Regions from separate parts of the Homo sapiens genome. Here region 1 is linked to region 2. Evidence: promoter capture Hi-C in human tissues and cell types (Jung and others, 2019). All regions are on one chromosome and are shown on one strand. Each heading gives the region's core, a stretch centred on a gene start or on the middle of the fragment in contact. The rest is flanking DNA. Distances are from core to core; before and after follow the strand shown.

What was found. Contacts are between HindIII fragments. The study calls those that stand out against the background at their distance.
Region 1: a fragment that was not itself captured here is called in contact with the fragment with the promoter of TMEM106C in region 2 in 1 of the 25 tissues and cell types used here (H1 embryonic stem cells).

The regions. Positions count from the first base shown.
Region 1 is chr12:48,097,192-48,099,891 of GRCh38, reverse strand. SENP1 (SUMO specific peptidase 1) reads left to right here. Exons shown (of 18, transcript NM_001267594.2): 3 at 1,768-1,898. Among named protein-coding and RNA genes, the nearest start is that of SENP1, 7.5 kb to the left of the region's middle. The HindIII fragment of the contact is 5,221 bases long and covers 1-2,700 here.
Region 2 is chr12:47,962,285-47,964,984 of GRCh38, reverse strand. It overlaps TMEM106C (transmembrane protein 106C), which reads right to left and starts at 1,389. Exons shown (of 8, transcript NM_001143842.2): 1 at 1,281-1,389; 2 at 562-776. The coding sequence starts at 748. The HindIII fragment of the contact is 8,708 bases long and covers 1-2,700 here.

The sequences.
Region 1 (2,700 bases), core at 159-2,658, 130 kb before region 2:
TTATTGAGCTGATACCTGTTAAGAGCAATATGAATAAAATTATGCTTTTAAAAAAATGTTCAGGCAGATTATTATTATTATTAGAGACAGGGTCTCACTCTCTTGCCTAGGCTGGAGTGCAGTGGTGTTATCTTGGCTCACTCCATCCTCTGCCTTGGGTTCAAGCGATTCTCATGCTTCAGCCTCCAAGTAGCTAGGATTACAGGCATGTGCCACTATGCCTGGTGTATTTTTAGTAGAGATGGGGTTTTGCCATGTTAGCCAGGCTGGTCTCAAACTCCTGGCCTCAAGTAAGTGATCCGCCCACCTCAGCCTCCCAGAGTGCTGGGATTACAGGTGTGAGCCACCACACCTGGCAGGTGGATTACTTCTTAAAGCACTTCTTTGTGTTAAAACAGGAAATGAACCAGTGTTAACAGTGTGTGTTACTGAATGGTGAATTTTTTCCCCCAATTTTTTTATATTTAAAATTTTTTCTATAGTTAAAATATTTAAAAAGTTTCTTTTGGGAGCATTTTTGTTTTTTGTTTGTGTTTTTCTTTGTTGTTGTTGTTGTTGTTTTCTGAGACAGGGTCTCACTCTGTCACCCAGGCTGGAGTGCAGTGACTCTGTCATGGCTCACTGCAGCCTTGACCTCCCCGGGCTCAGAGTATCCTTCCAGGTCGGCCTCCTGAGTAGCTGGGACTACAGGCATGCACCACCATGTCTGGCTAATGTTTTGTTTTGTTTTTTAATAGAGACAAGATTTTGCCTTATTTCCCAGGCTGGTCTCGAACTCCTGGGCTCAAGCCATTCGTCTGCCTCAGCCTCCCAAAGTGCTAGTATTACAGGTGTGAGCCACCTTGCCTGGTCTCGTTATTTTTAAAGCTTTAAATTAAGCTGTTTTTATATGTGTACAAGTTTTGAACTGTTTGGTAGATGGCCTCAATTAATTCCAAATGAGCCAATTTCTGCACATGGACCTCTTTTGACAATGACAATATGAGATTTTTGCCATTGGTTAGCTATGAAAGAGGGATTTTATTTTATTGCAGAGTTGTTCTTCAAGTTCTTTTTTGTCTTTTTTTATTATTATTGTTAGACATAGGGTCTCCCTCTGTCCCCCAGGCTGGAGTGCAGTGGTGTGATGATAGCTCACTGTAAATTTGAACTCATGGGCTCAAAACAGTCCTCCTGCCTCAGCTTCCCAAGTGGTTGAGGCTACAGACACGTGCCACATTGGCTGGCTAACTTTTTTTTTTTTTTTTTGAGATGGAGTTTTGCTCTTGTTGCCCAGGCTGGAGTGCAGTGGCACGATCTTGGCCCACTGCAACCTCTGCCTCCCAGGGTCAAGCAATTCTCCTGCCTCAGCCTCCCGAGTAGCTGGGATTACAGGTACCCGCCACCATGCCTGGCTAATTTTTGTATTTCTGGTAGAGACAGGGTTTCACCATGTTGGCCAGGCTGGTCTTGAACTCCTGACCCCGTGATCCACCCGCCTCAACCTCCCAAAGTGCTGGGATTACAGGTGTGAGCCACCACACCTGACCTGCTGGCTAATTTTTAAATTTTTTTGTAGAGACAGGGTCTTACTATGTTGCCTAGATAGATCTTGAACTTTTGGCCTCAAAAAAATCCTCCTGCCTCAGCCTCTCAGAGTGCTGGGATTACAGGCATGAGACACCATGCCTGGGTGGGAATTGTTTTTATTAGGTGAAAAGATTGGTTCATAGGAAAAACGTTATTGAAGAATTATGTGACTTGAACTAATCCAGACTGTCTCCCCAGATGATATTGCTGATAGGATGAGGATGGATGCTGGAGAAGTGACTTTAGTGAACCACAACTCCGTATTCAAAACCCACCTCCTGCCACAAACAGGTTTTCCAGAGGACCAGCTTTCGCTTTCTGACCAGCAGGTTAGGAGCAATTTTCTTCCTTTAATTAATTAATTATTTGGGCTCATCATAAGTTTTCATCTTATGTAGTTTAAATGCCACACTCAAAAATACAAGCATAGCTATAAACTTTTTAGAATCAGTAATTTTAGTGTTTGGAATTCTGCTCTATATATTAAAATTAAGACAAGGACGTTAAGACAAAATAGGCTATGTATGAGTTCTTTGAGAACAGTACGTTTTAGAAAACTCATTGTTCCTCTGAATTTTAAAATTACTTATATGCAGATCAGTGTTCTTTTAAACTAGCACCTAAAATTGCTGAGCATTAAATGGGGGAGAAATGTGAAAATATACAGCAGCTCTAAGATGTCTGTGCTATAATGCCTGATTTCTCAAGGTCTAGTTCGGGACCAGCAGCATCAACATTACTTGGGAGCTTGATAGAAATGCAGACTCTCAGGCTTTACCTCATATCACTGAATCAGAATTTATATTTTAAAAACATCCTCATTTGATTTATATGCACATGAAAGTGTGGGGAGCACTATTAAGCAGTCTTTTTCAATAGGAAAGCCATTAGTAATTTGGATGAGATCATTCTTTGATGTGTGAATCTTTCCTAATTATAGTAGGATGTTTAGCATCCATGAGCCCTAGGCACTAAATTCCTGTAACATCCACCTCCCCCCATAATCATTTTAATAGTTAATATATATCCACACATTTCCAGATATGTACTCAGGGTATAGCACCACCTCTGATTAAGAGCTATCTCTGTAAAGTTATCAAAAGAACCAAAACCAGATTGATTTTTCTCAAC
Region 2 (2,700 bases), core at 140-2,639:
CCTTTCATATGGAAGCTTTGGAGTAAATGATTTTGAAGGTCCTAACCAGCTCTAAATTTCTGTGACTCTCCAGCTAAACTGTTAAAGACTTTCTGAGGGCCAATTTGTTAATAGTAATAGATGATCCTGTACCAAGGCTAAGTATTTGTCTCTCTCTCTTGACCTGATATATTTTTCTGACCTTAGGCTGTTAAGGATTAGCTACCCATTTCCTTGAAAAGCAGCTTCCAAGATGGTTCCCCCGCAAAGCTGTCCCAATCCTTGTGACAGCGATAAAGAAATGTGCCTGTCAACAAATCCCACAACACAGAGCGAACTGAATGTTCCAAACCTCAGGAAAAGAACAAGAGTGGCGGTAAAGAAAAGAAAGGGTTGGAAAAATAAGGAGAGGAAGAGAAGTTGCAGAACTGCCCAAGTGTATTAAGTCAGTTGAGCTGGCTCCTGTCCAGGGCACTGTCTCTATTATGGTATTACTGCCTAGAAGAAAAGTTGTCTGGGCAGACAGGAGAACTCCGAGGGTACCTTGGGATTCTCATCAGGGAATCATCCCTCCATGATCACCTGTTGGAATGTAGCCTGTCCCCTGGCACGTGAGACAGGTGATGCTATCTCTCCCGGTGAATTCCACATATGGGAACTGAGCAATGGCTTCTTCCTGCTCTCGTTCAGCCAGCAAACCGTCCCTGTCATCTTCTTGCTTTCGCCTGCAGGAGGAGGGGCGAGCAGCAGCGGAATGCTGAGACCCCATGGCCGTGATATGCCACTGGTGTCATGTCCTAAGATGAAAAGAGGGAGTGCACGTTAGCGGCCCCAGTGAATCACGACAGAAATCGCTTGTTTCTATAAGAAAATTAAAAACGCAAAAATGACAAGTTGCCGCCCTGAGTGTGGTCCCAACACCTGTACGATTTCTATCGGGACCCTCATTTTGTAGTAGTGCTACCCACTCTCCTCTTACCCGCCACACACAGCCGGCGGGGGTGGGGAGGGGGAACGGGGCCTGCCTTTCACGCACCTGCCTCGATCCTCACCGCCCTGGGACTTGGGGCACCCCCGCTCCCACCTGGTCCAGCCTCGCCCCTTCCTCTTCACTATTTGTAAGCTCTATGCCCCTCCTCGAGCAACAAACAGGCACCAAATTGATAACCGGCCTTAACGATTCCCATTCCTCTCCACCCCCCAGCCCCAGGAGGCGGGCTCAGGTCACGCCCCTTGGCAAAAAGCGATGCTCTGAGCCCACCAAAGTGGCCCAGGCAGGAGCGAACGCCAGCGTCGCAGACCTGCAGGGCACGAACTCCCGGCAGCTCCTCTCCGGCCGCTCCCCCGACCACCTGCCAGCTTGAGGACTTACCAGCCTCTTCGGTCGGCGGAGCGGCACGCACTCAGCGCGCAGGCGCCAAATACCAAGCCCGCCAGGAGAACGCGGGCGCGCGCTCGCGCGTGCGCTCTTCGCGGCTCCGGAGGCCTTCCCAATATCGCAGCTGTCTGGCTCCCTCGGTTCCGGTAGAGGGCGGCAGAGAGCGCCGGGGAGCCGCGACCCTTGCTGTTGGGCCGCGGTAGTCCGCGGAGTCGGGATGATGCTCTGCTGTTCGCTAGATAGGCTGGGAAAGGCTCCAGTCAAGTTTCCAGAGCAAAACACTTCTCTGCTGCGAGAGGAGGAAGGTGCTGCCGGCTACCGAAGCCATTCTGAAATATTCTTTATAGTACAGGAGCTGTGTAGTCGCTGAGGGTACACACATGCGGAGCATTCGGATAAACTGCCTTTGCAAAAATTGTAAGTGAGAAAATTATGACAGTGAAAGAGATCTGACTTACCCAGTTCCGTCTTGCTTCTAACCTCCGAACTGCCCTTGTTCATTCCTGGGTATAGGCCAAACTAACTTTGGGAGGAATTTAGTTTATAGTTGAACTTCGAAGCAAAGATAACAGCCCTTCCCCAAAACAAACCCCCTTCTTGCCTGGGGACCAGACTGCCTTTGTAAGACTAACAAATTAGCCACAAGATTAGAAATTATGGTTTAGGAGTCATCCAGACAGAGGTCACAAGATTCCAAACCTTCCCTATTGCTCCAAGGGATAACATCACTATTGTAAAATCTAAGATCGGTGCTGGGGATATTTTTCAGACCCTGCATTCTGAGGCACCAGCTGGCAGTACCTAGACCAGTTATCTGGCTCAGCCAGTTCTGCAATCCCACCCAGGAACAGAAAACAGCAAGAAGAACCCACTTAGACCCCCCTATGATTTCATCTCCAACCTGACCAATCAGCACTCCCCACTGCCTGATACCTACCAGCCGAATTATCCTTAAAAAACCCCAGTCTCTGAATTATCGGGGAGACTTATTTGAGTGATAAAACTCTGGTATCTCATTCAGCCGGCTCTGCATGAATTAAAATCTCCATTGCAATTCCCCTGTCTTGATGAATCAGCTCTGGGCAACGGGCAAGGAGAACCCGTCCGGCAATTATATCAGAACCTGTCTTCAGTCCAGGAGGGGAACCCAGAGGCTTCATCAGACCCCTCCAATACTGTAGATAAAAGTGCTGCTGGAAGTCTCACAAGTCAGAGGGGCCCAGCCTGGGGGAAACCTTCCATGGGGAGTCCTGCTGGCTTCTCGCAGGAACGGACCCCACAGCTGAGCTTTGCAAGCCAATTAGGTGCCAAGAGGCACCAAGGAGTAGATTCATTCGGTAGTA